Linked DNA regions of Homo sapiens: all the other regions are linked to region 3. Evidence: promoter capture Hi-C in 16 types of primary human blood cells and fetal thymus (Javierre and others, 2016). All regions are on one chromosome and are shown on one strand. The core of a region is centred on a gene start or on the middle of the fragment in contact, and the rest is flanking DNA. Distances in the headings are between cores, read along the strand shown. Region 1 has its middle 12 kb from the start of HPS6. Region 2 overlaps ARMH3 (armadillo like helical domain containing 3). Region 3 holds the start of KCNIP2 (potassium voltage-gated channel interacting protein 2).

Region 1 (3,739 bases), core at 791-3,290, 230 kb after region 3:
GTCAGGAGTTCAAGACCAGCTGGGAAACATAGTAAGACCCCCGTCTCCATAAAAAATACAAAAAATCAGCCAGGCATGGTGGTATGCACCTGTAGTCCCAGCTACTCGGGAGGTTGAGGTAGGAGGATCACTTGGGCCTGGCAGGTTGAGGCTGCACTGAATCGAGATCATGCCACTGCAGCCTGGGTGACAGAGCAGGACCTTGTCAGAAAGAGAGAGAGAGAGAGAGAGGGAGGGAGGAAAGGAGGGAGGGAACACTGGATTTCCTAAACCTCTGTGGCTTCTCTAATAAATGATAGAGTTTCTCTTTGTAGAATGCAGCACCTTCCCAGGTGGCCCCAGAAAACGTTGAAGGGTTGTGGTTTTGTTTTCATGGCAAATCTAACTGGAGCTGGGAATGGGCTCTTGATCCCATGTTTCTCACTCTGTTAGCCTGTTCATCATCCCCTTAATATCAGCAGTCAGACCCACAAGGGGTAGAGACCTCAGTGCTTGGCATGAGGGAACACCAGAAGAGAACTTGAGGTCCATCCATTTTTCTCTTCTGAATAGTGTTTTGGAATCTAAGCTCCAAGGGGTCAAGGAGGCAGGGGACAGCTGAGGAGTCATCAATAAAACAAAAGGTCTGGGAGCAGTGTAATCCTAGCTACCAAGAGGCTAAGGCAGGAGGATCACTTGAGCCCAGGAGTTTGAGGCTGCAGAGAGCTATGATCTTGCTACTCAGCCTGAGTGATAGAGCAAGACCTCATCTATTAAAAAAAAAAAGGCTGGCCGGGAGTGGTGGCTCATGCCTGTAATCCCAGCACTTTGAGAGGCCGAGGCGGGGGGATCACAAGGTCAGGAGATCGACACCATCCTGGCCAACACGGTGAAACCCCATCTCTACTAAAAATACAAAAATTAGCTGGGCGTGGTGGCATGTGCCTGTAATCCCAACTACTTGGGAGGCTGAGGTAGGAGAATCGCTTGAACCTGGAATGAGAGGTTGCAGTGACCAGAGACTATACAACTGCACTCCAGCATGGGCAACAGAATGAGACTCCATCTCAAAAAATAAAATAAAAATAAAAATAAAAAAAGAAAAGAAAAAGAAAACAAAAGAGCAGCAGATCTCAGTCAGTTGCAAGTCTGCCCTGTGCCTCCCAGCTCTGTCGCCCAGCTTCAGTTGCCCATCATACCCTGTCAAGCCCTGGTCACCCCTTTTCTTTCCTCACATCTATCCCAGGTCAGTGCTCATATCCCTGTCTCTCAAAGGGATGGATTCTGAACTTGTGCATATTAATAGTCAAATCCACAGAGTCTATCAGTACACCAAATTTCTTTTTTTTTTTTTTTTTGAGATGGAATCTTGCTGTCACTCAGGCTAGAGTGCAGTGGCGCGATCTCAGCTCACTGCAACCTCCGCCTCCCGGGTTCAAGTGATTCTCCTGCCTCAGCCTCCAAAGTAGCTGGGATTACAGGCGCGCAGCCACCACGCCTGGCTAATTTTTGTATTTTTAGTAGAGACAGGGTTTCTCTATGTTGGCGAGGCTGGTCTCGAACTCCTTACCTCGGGTGATCCACCCTCCTTGGCCTCCCAAAGTGCTGGAATTACAGGGATGAGCCACCACATCTGGCCCCAATTTTTTTTTTTTTAAATGATATGGAGCCTCGCTTTGTCACCAGGCTGGAGTGCAGTGGCGTGATCTTGGCTCACTGCAACCTCCACCTCCTGGGTTCAAGCAATTCCCCTGCCTCAGCCTCCCGAGTAGCTGGAACTACAGGTGTGTGCCACCATACCCGCTAATTTTTTTTGTATTTTAGTATGGATGGGGTTTCACCATGTTGGCCAAGATGGTCTCCATCTCATGACCTTGTGATCCTTCTGCCTTGGCCTCCCAAAGTGCTGGGATTACAGGAGTGAGCCACCATGCCTGGCCAAATTTCTTAAAATTTGAATTCAGCAAATCTTCTGTTTCATCAATTCTGTTGACATCCCAATGTCTTCCAGCTGCGTATTCACAATGATGGGGGCAGATGGTAGAAATGGGATGGTAATGTAAAAGTGGGATCTGGAGCTCAGAAGATACCCCCATCCCATACCTACTACAACATCTGTGCCTTCTTGTTCACTATTTTTGGGGTACCATAGAGAGACTACGGGTCCCCTGATAATATCGCAATTTTCTCTAACCCCAACTCCATGGGACTGATTATAGGAAAAGGGAGATTGGAGGTCAGCCCTACTAAGACCTCCTTGGACTGAGATTCTTTAGTCTTTGTGGCTCTCCTAGAAATATTTCCTTAAGGGGTCTGTTCCCGCATGGGGCTGAGGAAATACAGAGGTGAGAATAACAAATTAGGACCAGGCACGGAGGCTCACGCCTGTAATCCCAGCACTTTGGGAGGCTGAGGCAGGCAGATCACCTGAGGTCAGGAGTTTGAGACCAGCCTGACCAACATGATGAAACCCCCTCTCTACTAAAAATACAAAAATTAGCCAGGTGTGGTGGCGGGTGCCTGTAATCCCAGCTACTTGGGAGGCTGAGCCAGGAGAATCCCTTGAACCCAGGAGGCAGAGATTGCAGTGAGCCGAGATCGCGCCACTGCACTCCAGCCTGGGCGACAGAGCAAGATTCCGTCTCAAGAAAAATAAATAAATAAATAAATAAATAACCAATTGGAAGAAGCTCAAATGCAGTCATGTCTGAGGCAAGGAGGACATGAACAGTTGCCCTGCTTGGTGTCTTCAAGCCAGGACTAAGAGGAGAGGAGAAAGAGCCACACTACTGGCTGCCCTTTCATTCTAGAGACCAGGGCTGGCAGAAGTTTCCTAGATTTCCTAAATTTTCACACCTTCCCCCAGACTAGCGACTTGGTAACCTTGGGTCTCTTTCCCCACAATGATCAACTGTAAAATCCTTCAAAGGAAAAGGTACCATGTAGTTTTCTTTAGGGAGATGTGAACAGGGAGGCAAATAAGTGTGGGGAGAGCTGAGGAGATGGTACCCCCCTCAGCTTCCAATCTAGAGGAATGAGGAGTCCCAGGGATTGAGTAAGTAGACAGTAAGCAGGCTGAGGCTCTTGCAGCTTGTAGGAAGGAAGAAAGAGGGTGCAGATTATCAATTTGGATATTATATGGCTCCCAGTTCAGGAAAAAAATCCCCAGAGTCGTTGGGCACAGTGGCTCATACTTGTAATCTCAGCAGTTTGGGAGGTCGAGGCAGGAAGATCACTTAAGCTCAGGAGTACGAGACCAGCCTGGGCAACATAGTGAGACCTTGTCTCTATGAAAAGTAAAAAAAAATTAGCCGGGCATGGTGGTGCACACCTATAGTCCCAGCTACTCGGGAGGCTGAGGTGGACTGCTTGAGCCCAGGAGGTCAAGGCTACAGTGAGCTGTGATTGCACCACTGTACTCCGGCCTGGGTGACAGGGAGAGACCCTGCCTCAAAAAAAAAGAAAGAAAGAAAAGGGAAGGGGAGGGGAGGGGAGAGGAATCGCCAGAGTGGAAAGAAAAGGAACCCAGCTGAATGGTCTTGTCCTTGTAAGATAGGACAAAACAGTGTTCAGGGAGCTAGCTTGAATTGACAGAAGGATCTTCCTAGGGGTTTAACCCTGATGGCTTCCCCACCCATATTGGGACACCTCCCATCCTAGAGAACAGTCCCATTTTGTTGTTGATCACATGGAGGTTCATTTTCAAAAAGGTATTCAACAATGATACCTGTTCTTTTACATCTGGGAGCTGAGGAAAGTA
Region 2 (4,197 bases), core at 343-2,842, 180 kb after region 3:
CCCCTCAGGAGTGAGTTATATTTTGAAAATTCAATAGGAATTGGGGAGGAAAGGAATTCCAGACAGGTATTAGCATCATCAAAGACACATAAGGAAAGAAATGGCCCTGGTGTGGGGTTGGAATAAAAGTAGTTTGTTTTTAAGGGAGTATAAAGAATGAGGCACAGTGGTGAGATATAAGCCTGGGGAAGTAAATATGGTGCAGATTTTGAAAGTTTTATAAGTCTAACTAGGGAGTTTGGTCTTTATCCTGTTAGTGACAGGAGACTAATGAAGGATTTTAAGCAGGAAAGATGTACACACTAGCGTAAGATATATACACTAATGCCACACAGTTGTGGTGTCAGTGTGGATGATGGATTTAAAGATGGTAAGCTTGTAAGCATGGAGACTAATGAGGACTTCAATTTCCTGAGACAGTTGCCATGTCTTATTTGCCTCTTGTATCCTCAGTGCCTACCACAGTACCTGGCATATAGGGGCCCAACAAATATTTGTCAAAAGAATGAATGGGCTGGGTGCAGTGGCTCATGCCTGTAATCCCAGCACTTTGGGAGGCCAAGGCAGGCAGATCACCTGAGGTTAGGAGTTCGAGACCAGCCTGGCCAACAGGGTGAAACCCTGTCTCTACTACAAATACAAAAATTAGCTGAGTGTGGTGGCGCATGCCTGTAATCCCAGCTACTCAGGTGGCTGAGGCAGGAGAATCGCTTGAACCCAGGACAGGGAGGTTGCAGTGAGCCGAGATTGCACCACTGGACTCCAGCCTAGGTGACAGAGTGAGATTCCGTCTCAAAAAAAAAAAAAAAAAAAGAATGAATGAAGGCATCACTGTAATAGTTCTGGTGAGAGATAGCATAATAGAGATGGTGGTAACAGAAGAAGACAAGTATGAGGAATATGAACTGAGGTAAAATTAGCTGAACTTGGTGATCATCTGGAGATAAAAGATGAGAAGTCCCCTCATCACAGCGTGGGGCCTGTGAAGACAGCTGCTCCCATTCTGAAAGAGAATGAATGAGGAAGAAGAGATGCAGGAGAAACAGTGAGCTCCATTCTGGATATATCAAGCAAGAAGTACTTATGGGATGTGTCAGTGAGTACACTCAGCAAGTACTTGCAGAGGATACAACTCTGAGATCATGAAGAGACATTAAGGCTAAAGACAGACACTTAGCAGTCATCAACATACAAGCAGTAGTTAGAATTATGAGAATGAGGAGCTATCTGGGATTTTACCATGACATATATATGAACTGCAAAAGGCCAGAATTTAAAAATAACTCTAAGTATTAAATATTTGTATATTTATAATTATATATTAATAACTTTTTTTGTAACCTAATCATTATAAAGATTCTCTGGTATACAGATTTATTTTAAATTTAATGAGTGACAGAAGACTGTTCTTCAAAGTTCAAATAACATTCATTCAATATGGTGTCCAACACTGCAAATCATATATCTGATAAGGGACATATTCAGAATACGAAAAGAACTCTTATAACTCAACAAAAAAAGACACCCCCATCTAGAAATGGACAAAGGATATGAAAGACTTTTCTCCAAAAAAAAAAAATAAAGAAAAGACAGACAAAAACAACTGTTGACATAATGTGCAGAAACTTGAACCCTCATACATTGCTAGTGAAATTATAAAATGGAACAGCCCCTATGGAAAAATGGTTTGGTAGTTCCTAAAATGTCAAATATAGAGTTACCATGTGACCCAGCAATTCTACACCTAGGTATATGCCCAAGAGAATTTAAAACATATGTGTGGCCTGAGTGCAGTGGGTCATGCTTATAATCTCAGCACTTTGGAAGGCTGAGGCAGGAGGATCACCTGAGGCCAGGAGTTCAAGACCAGCTGGGTCAACATAGCAAGACCTCATCTCATGAATAAATAAATAAATAAATACGAGCATACATCCATACAGAAACTTATACATGAACATTCATAGCAGCATTATTCCTAATAGCCAAAATGTTGAAAGGACCCAAATACCTATCAACTGAGGAATGGCTAAACAAAATATAGTGAGTATCTCCAGCCAAAGGAATATTATTAGGCAATAAAAAGGAATGAAATACTAATACATCCTATAATATGGAGGAACCACAAAAACATTATGTGAAGTAACTGCCAGACTCAAAAGGCTACATATGATATGATTCCATTTATATGAGGTGTCCAGAACAGCTAAACCCATAGAGACATAAAGCAGATTAATGCTTGCCAAGGGTTGAGAAGAGTGGAGAATTGGGGAATGACTGCTAATGGGTACAGGTTTTCTTTCTAGGGTGATGAAAATGTTCTGAAATTAATAGTGATGATAATTGTATAATTCTATGAATATACTAAAATCCACTGGATTGTACACTTTATTTATTTTCTTCTTTTTGAGACAGGGTCTTGCTCTGTTGCCCAGCCTGGAGTGCAGTGGCATGATCTTGGCTCACTGCAACCTCCACCTCCCAGGTTCAAGCAGTCCTACCACTTCAGCCTCCCCCAACTAGCTGGGACTTACAGGCACGTGCCACCATACGCAGATAATTTTTGTATTTTTTGTGGAGACGAGGTTTTGCCATGTTGCCCACGCTGGTCTCAAACTCCTTAGCTCAAGCAATCCGCCTGCCTTGGCCTCCCAAAGCGCTAGGATTACAGGCATGAGCCATGGCGCCTGGTCAGATTGTACAATCTAAAAGGGTGGATTTATGCTATATGAATTATAAGGCTGTTATTTTAAAAAGATAGTGTCAAACAGCAGAAAGAAAAATTCTGATAAAATCAAAGTAATTGTGTTAAATAAGCTTAAAGTTTAGAATTAAAGTTACCCTTGTATGTTGTTATATTTTATTTAAATTCATAAATGTTCTTAAGAATGTATGATCATATGATACGAGTAATAAAATAAACTATTCTGTCTTTATCCCGCAGGGAAAGAATACCTCCATTCAAATTTGAATTTAAAATTTTCCTTTATTCAGATAAAGCAAATCTGTGAAATAAAAACATCTAAATGCAAGGCCAAATTCAATCATCTGTATCTTTCTGAGTCCAAATCTTTGAGTACATTTGTCTGCTGATAGTGTCCAGGAACAGCTGTCAGAAGCTGCCATCCACAGGCACATCTGCAGCTTATGCCTCACCTTCATGCACAGCTCCGCCTTGTCAAAGCCCATCAGCATGTTGATAATGTCAAACCCAGAGGTAGACTTATTCTTTTGATGGACTCCTCGAATGAGTGCGCACAGGGTCTGCAGAAATGAGAGAAAGAATTCTTTCTGGAGAGGAAGTCTCAGGGTCTGTAGACCCACATTGCAGCCTCATCCTTACACAGCTGACACTGAATAAATTCAATTTCTCTGAGTTCTGAGCTCCAAAACACAGTCTGAGTTTTTTTGGTTTTTTCCGTTTGGTTCGGTTTTTTTGTTTGTTTGTTTTTTTTTTTGAGACAAGGTCTCGCTCTTCACCAAGACTGTAGTGCAGTGGCATAATCACAGCTCACTACAGCCTTGACCTCCTGGGCTCAGGTGATCCTCCCACCTCAGCCTTCCAAGTAGCTGAGATGACAGGTGTGCTCCACCACACCTGGTTAATTTTTTTATTTTTTGTAGAGACAGGGTCTCACCATGTTGCCCAGACTGGTCTCCAACACCTGGGCTCCAGTGATCCTCCTGCCTCAGCCTCCCAAAGTTCTGGAATTAGAAATGTGAGCCACTGTGCCCAGCCCAGTCTGAGTCTCAGTATGTGCAAAATCCAGCAAATAAAAGAGGAACAGTAACTGAGACTGCTGTCATCCTCATTTTTTATTTTCTTGTCATCTTGTTTTTAAAAATTATAAAGCAGACTGGGAGGTGATATTCAAAGATTAAAAATAGTTCTTGAGTTCAATCATGGGATTGGTGGAGTTTTCCTTTATTTAAAATTAATTTTGGGGCCGGACGCAGTGGCTCAAGCCTGTAATCCCAACACTTTGGGAGGCTGAGGCAAGTGGATCACCTGAGGTCAGGAGTTCGAGACCAGCTTGGCCAACATGGTGAAACCCAGTCTCTATTAAAAATACAAAAAATTAGCCAAGTGTGGAGGCAGATGCCTGTAATCCCAGCTATTCAGCAGGCTGAGGCAGGAGAATCCTTGAACCCAGGAGACGGATGTTGCAGTGAGCCGAGATCGCTCCATTGCACTCCAGC
Region 3 (3,965 bases), core at 740-3,239:
TAAAGCTGGAAGCAAACACTGACTAATGTGATACTATTGAAGGCCCCTAGGCCCTTACTACTCTCAAGAATCCTAAGCTGGTGATGGGAACAGAATTCATGGAAGAGCTGGACAGTGGGTCCTTTGGATTCCATCCAGCTCTGAGGCACATCTGGCATGGTCTCTCATCTGGGGCCAGCCTGAGTGGCTCCCCTGATCCTGACTAGGGCCTCCCTAGGGACAGTGATGGGGGATGGGGGAAGACACATGCTCAAGGCACCTCATCCTAGTCCCCTCCCCCTTCCCAGGTCTCAATCTCACTCCCCTCAGGAAGGACAAGGATCATGGCCTCCCTCCACCTCCCCAGCTTTGTTTTGGCCTCAGGGAGACAGCCTCCCTCCTCCCACTCTGCTGGCTTTCTAGAGCAGGCTGCACAATGAGAGACACAAACACATACATGGAAATGTACCCAGGGTGACACAGTCACCTACACAAACACATGGCTCTTCCTACCAAACCCAGGAACATGCACATGCACAGATGTACTGGCCTCACATACCTCCCCATGTGGGAAAGAGAGGATGCCCGGGCAGCCAAGTGGTTTGGTGGACATGCAGGACACCACATGGCACTTCCCAGGCCTAGAGCTTCTAGCTCTGTCTCTGGAGGGGAAGGAAGAGGATGTGTTTTCCTGGGGTTTGAGTGAAGTTCTGAAAGGTTTGTTGGGGGTTGAAGGATTCAGTTGTAAGAATAATCTCAGTACATGATTTGGTGTGGGGAGAGAGGGCTGACCCAGCACTAACTAAAGCCTCCCTACAGGGGCCAGGTGCTGGAGCCATAAGGTCTCTTGGAAACCAGACTGGGCAGCTGAACACTAAAGTCCCTCCTTGGGTCCACCTGGGCTATTTGTGGAAAAATTGGTGAAGGAGTGGGGTGTACTAAAGACCCCTATCTGTACCAGGAAGCCAGAGAGGCAGCAGGGATGAGACACGTCATAGACACTCACAGAGCCCCGCTGCAGACATCACCACATGAAAGTACACAACTAGCACTGAACACTAATCTCACAACCACAAAACACAACACAACCTACTTTAACAAATTCTTGCCCAGAGGGCTTATGGTCATGAAGGCTTACAAAGAGACAAGCCACCCTAAAGTAGAGCCCTGACACATTCTGGTAGTTACACACCACTTCATACAGAATTACACACTCACAACACATCGTTGCACATAGAGACACATGGTCAAAACAACTTCATCAGTACAACCAGGGTCCTACGCAAACTCAAACATCTGACGAGACCATACAATTGCACTGCCACATACAATCACACTCACCCTAGCTGTCACCAAGCCCAGGGCACATGGCAACCAGCTGTGGGAGGTGCGCGCGCACACACACACACACACACAGAATGACAGGTGCTCACGCACGTAACACCTCCCACTCCAGACACCCTCTCAGCCCTGTGTCACATACGCCCACACCTGCTGCCTCTCCACACCTGCCTCTTCTGTTCCTCCCCAACCCCTGCGGGACCCAAGGCTTTGAACCCCCAGTGTCCTGCCGCCCAGACCGGCCATAAGAGTGCCTGGGAATGGGGCAGAGTGTGGGTGCGGGCCAGGCCGGGGTCGGAGAGGCGGAAGGGTCTGGAGGAATGGAATCCACCCTCCCTCCCGCGACCCCCACGTCACTGACTCACCCGTGAGCTGGTCGTAGGAGCCGTCCAGGTCTCGGGAATCGGACAAACTCTCCTTGCGGCCCTGGCCCCGCATGGCCCCCGGCGCCCCGCTCCCGCCCGGGCCGTGGGAGGGGGCGCCGGGTGGCCGGGATAGGGCGCTCACACGGCGCCCCCTGGCGGCCTACTGTGCTGTCGGGGCTGGGGAAGTCCGGGCTGAGGCTGAGTCTGGGAATGGGCCCGGGGTCTGAGGTCTACCCGGAGGTCCTGGAGCAGGAGAGGGAACACTAGGCAGCAGGTGAGCGCAGAGCCGGAGGCAGAGCGGAGCTGAGCGCGGAGCCGAGCCGAGCTGCCTCTCTCCTCCCGCCCCCTCCCCGCGGCTGTCACCGCCTCCTCCCCTCTTTGGCGCTGCCGGGATTGGCTCCCCCTACCCCCGCCCCCCACCCTTTGCAGCCCGGGGGAGGCACCCGGTGAAAGGGTGAACTGCAAAGTGCGGGGAAGGAGACTAGCTCCCCAGCAATCTGCCCCTAAAGCAGAAGTCACGGGGCTTGGCGGGGGGGGGGGGTGGGGGAGGAGGAGAGCGCGGGACAGAAGAGCCCCACTGAGAGGAGGAAACCCCGCCCCCAATTCTCAGGCACCCCGTCCCCCTTCGTCAACACAGTTCTGGCTGAGGCAGAGCCTGGGGTATCATATCTGAGTCCCCGCTCCGTTTGTCTCCATGTCAGCCTGTATTTTCTCTGTTGTTCCTCCTCCCGTGTATGCGTCTCTCGTGGTCCCAGACAGTCCCCACCGTGCTTAAAGCAGGTTAGGGATGCAAAGGAAGAGTCAACCCAGCCTCTAATATTAGCAGGCTCATCGTGGGCCAATGGACTACTGTTTCATCTTCTCTCAAGTTCCAGAAGGACCCCAACTCTCACCCACTCCAGGACCCCGTCTCTGGAACCTATTCACTCTCAGGGTGCCTCCTTCACTGATCTAATGAACCCCATAGGCCGACTAGGAAGATAAAAAAACTAGTGAACCAGGTCAGTTTCTCAAGACATCCTTGCTCTTTTGTTCCTCCCCTGCAGCAACTTTTCTGCCCTTCTCTTTTGTCACCTGTCCTGTCCTAGATTCCTTGTTTTCCAGCAGATATGGGGAGCAACTGACAGGTTTGGGGATCCAAGTCAGGATACAGAGTAGGAAAGAAATGCCCTTGTTATGAAACCCCTTCCTTAAGATTAGCTCCTTTCCAAAGGCAGGGCTAGCACGGAAGCTGGGCTGCCTCATCTCCCAGGAATGGATCCTGAGTGTTTTGAGCGTCACAGGTCTGACCTTCCTCAGGATGCTTCCTGGGCTCCACACCCAAAAGCCCCCCAACCCGTTGCTATGAGGATGAGGGGACCTTGTCTGGTGGGTCCAAAGGAGTGACCTGTTAAGACCAAAAACTTTAAAGTGACTCAAGCACACTTAATCTCTTCAATTGGCTTTAATTTCCAACCACTTGATTTAATCAACCCAGCAGGAATTGTGGCGGGAGTTCAGGCCTAAGAGGGGGACAAGTGGCTGAGGGTAAGATTGTCTTTAGGAGCAATGCCCTGCGCTTGGATCTCCCTTGGCTCTGGAGGAGGCTCCACAGACCTGGTATAGAGGCTGGGCATAGAAAGTGCTTGGGCAGCTCCTGTTAAGGTTGATTTCCAGGAGAGAATGGGCACTCTCGTTTGGAGTTCTGGGATAGGTATATGTGAATAAACTGGTCAAGAGAAGGGCCTTTACAATGGAGGGCAAGGAGCCCTCTGCTTAGTGCCCCATGCCCTAGACCTGTCCTCATTCACTTGGAGGAAAGGCTGGCAGGAATCCGTAAGTGGCCAAATGGGTTGGCTTGCCTCCTCAATACCACTAAGTTTGGAGATAAGGGAACTAACTCTCTTCTCCCTCCTTCTACCCAGAGGACAAGAGAGGTTACAGCTCTCCGAACCCAACTGACCTCTACTAGGGCCAGGAGACTCAGAGGAAGGAGGAGAGTTCACAAGGGCAGGTAGGGGTCCCCTAGCCAGATGGCAGCAGCACCTAGGAGATTACCTTACCTCTATCTTTGAGGAATGAGTCTGGGCAACAGAGATTAAGGAAAAAAAAAGCAACACTAAAGACAGTCCCACACAAATCAATTTTTAATAATTTCAACTTGCCACCAGCTCCAAATCCAGCTGCCTTGGGGATTTATCACCAGGGAAAACACTAAATGCCCCAGGCTGAGCTATCCATCCAGTGATCAGATGACCCAGCCTGTGATCTCTTAAGAACCTACATCTACACATGGCAGCC

What was found. Contacts are between HindIII fragments. The CHiCAGO score rates a contact against its expected background, and 5 or more counts as called.
Region 1: a contact is called between a fragment that was not itself captured here and the fragment with the promoter of KCNIP2 in region 3, in 12 of 17 cell types (naive B cells, total B cells, fetal thymus and 9 more). The highest score is 18.4, in naive B cells.
Region 2: a fragment that was not itself captured here is called in contact with the fragment with the promoter of KCNIP2 in region 3 in 5 of 17 cell types (naive B cells, total B cells, endothelial precursors and 2 more); the score reaches 9.9 in naive B cells.

The regions. Positions count from the first base shown.
Region 1 is chr10:102,075,339-102,079,077 of GRCh38, forward strand. No RefSeq gene overlaps it. Among named protein-coding and RNA genes, the nearest start is that of HPS6, 12 kb to the left of the region's middle. The HindIII fragment of the contact is 7,564 bases long and covers 1-3,739 here.
Region 2 is chr10:102,026,485-102,030,681 of GRCh38, forward strand. It overlaps ARMH3 (armadillo like helical domain containing 3), which reads right to left. Exons shown (of 26, transcript NM_024541.3): 5 at 3,154-3,261. Among named protein-coding and RNA genes, the nearest start is that of ARMH3, 28 kb to the right of the region's middle. The HindIII fragment of the contact is 2,439 bases long and covers 374-2,812 here.
Region 3 is chr10:101,841,811-101,845,775 of GRCh38, forward strand. It overlaps KCNIP2 (potassium voltage-gated channel interacting protein 2), which reads right to left and starts at 1,990. Exons shown (of 10, transcript NM_173191.3): 1 at 1,686-1,990. The coding sequence starts at 1,758. It overlaps ARMH3 (armadillo like helical domain containing 3), which reads right to left. Exons shown (of 26, transcript NM_024541.3): 26 at 3,789-3,965. RefSeq lists an enhancer at 1,502-2,007 and a silencer at 1,963-2,212. The HindIII fragment of the contact is 15,452 bases long and covers 1-3,965 here.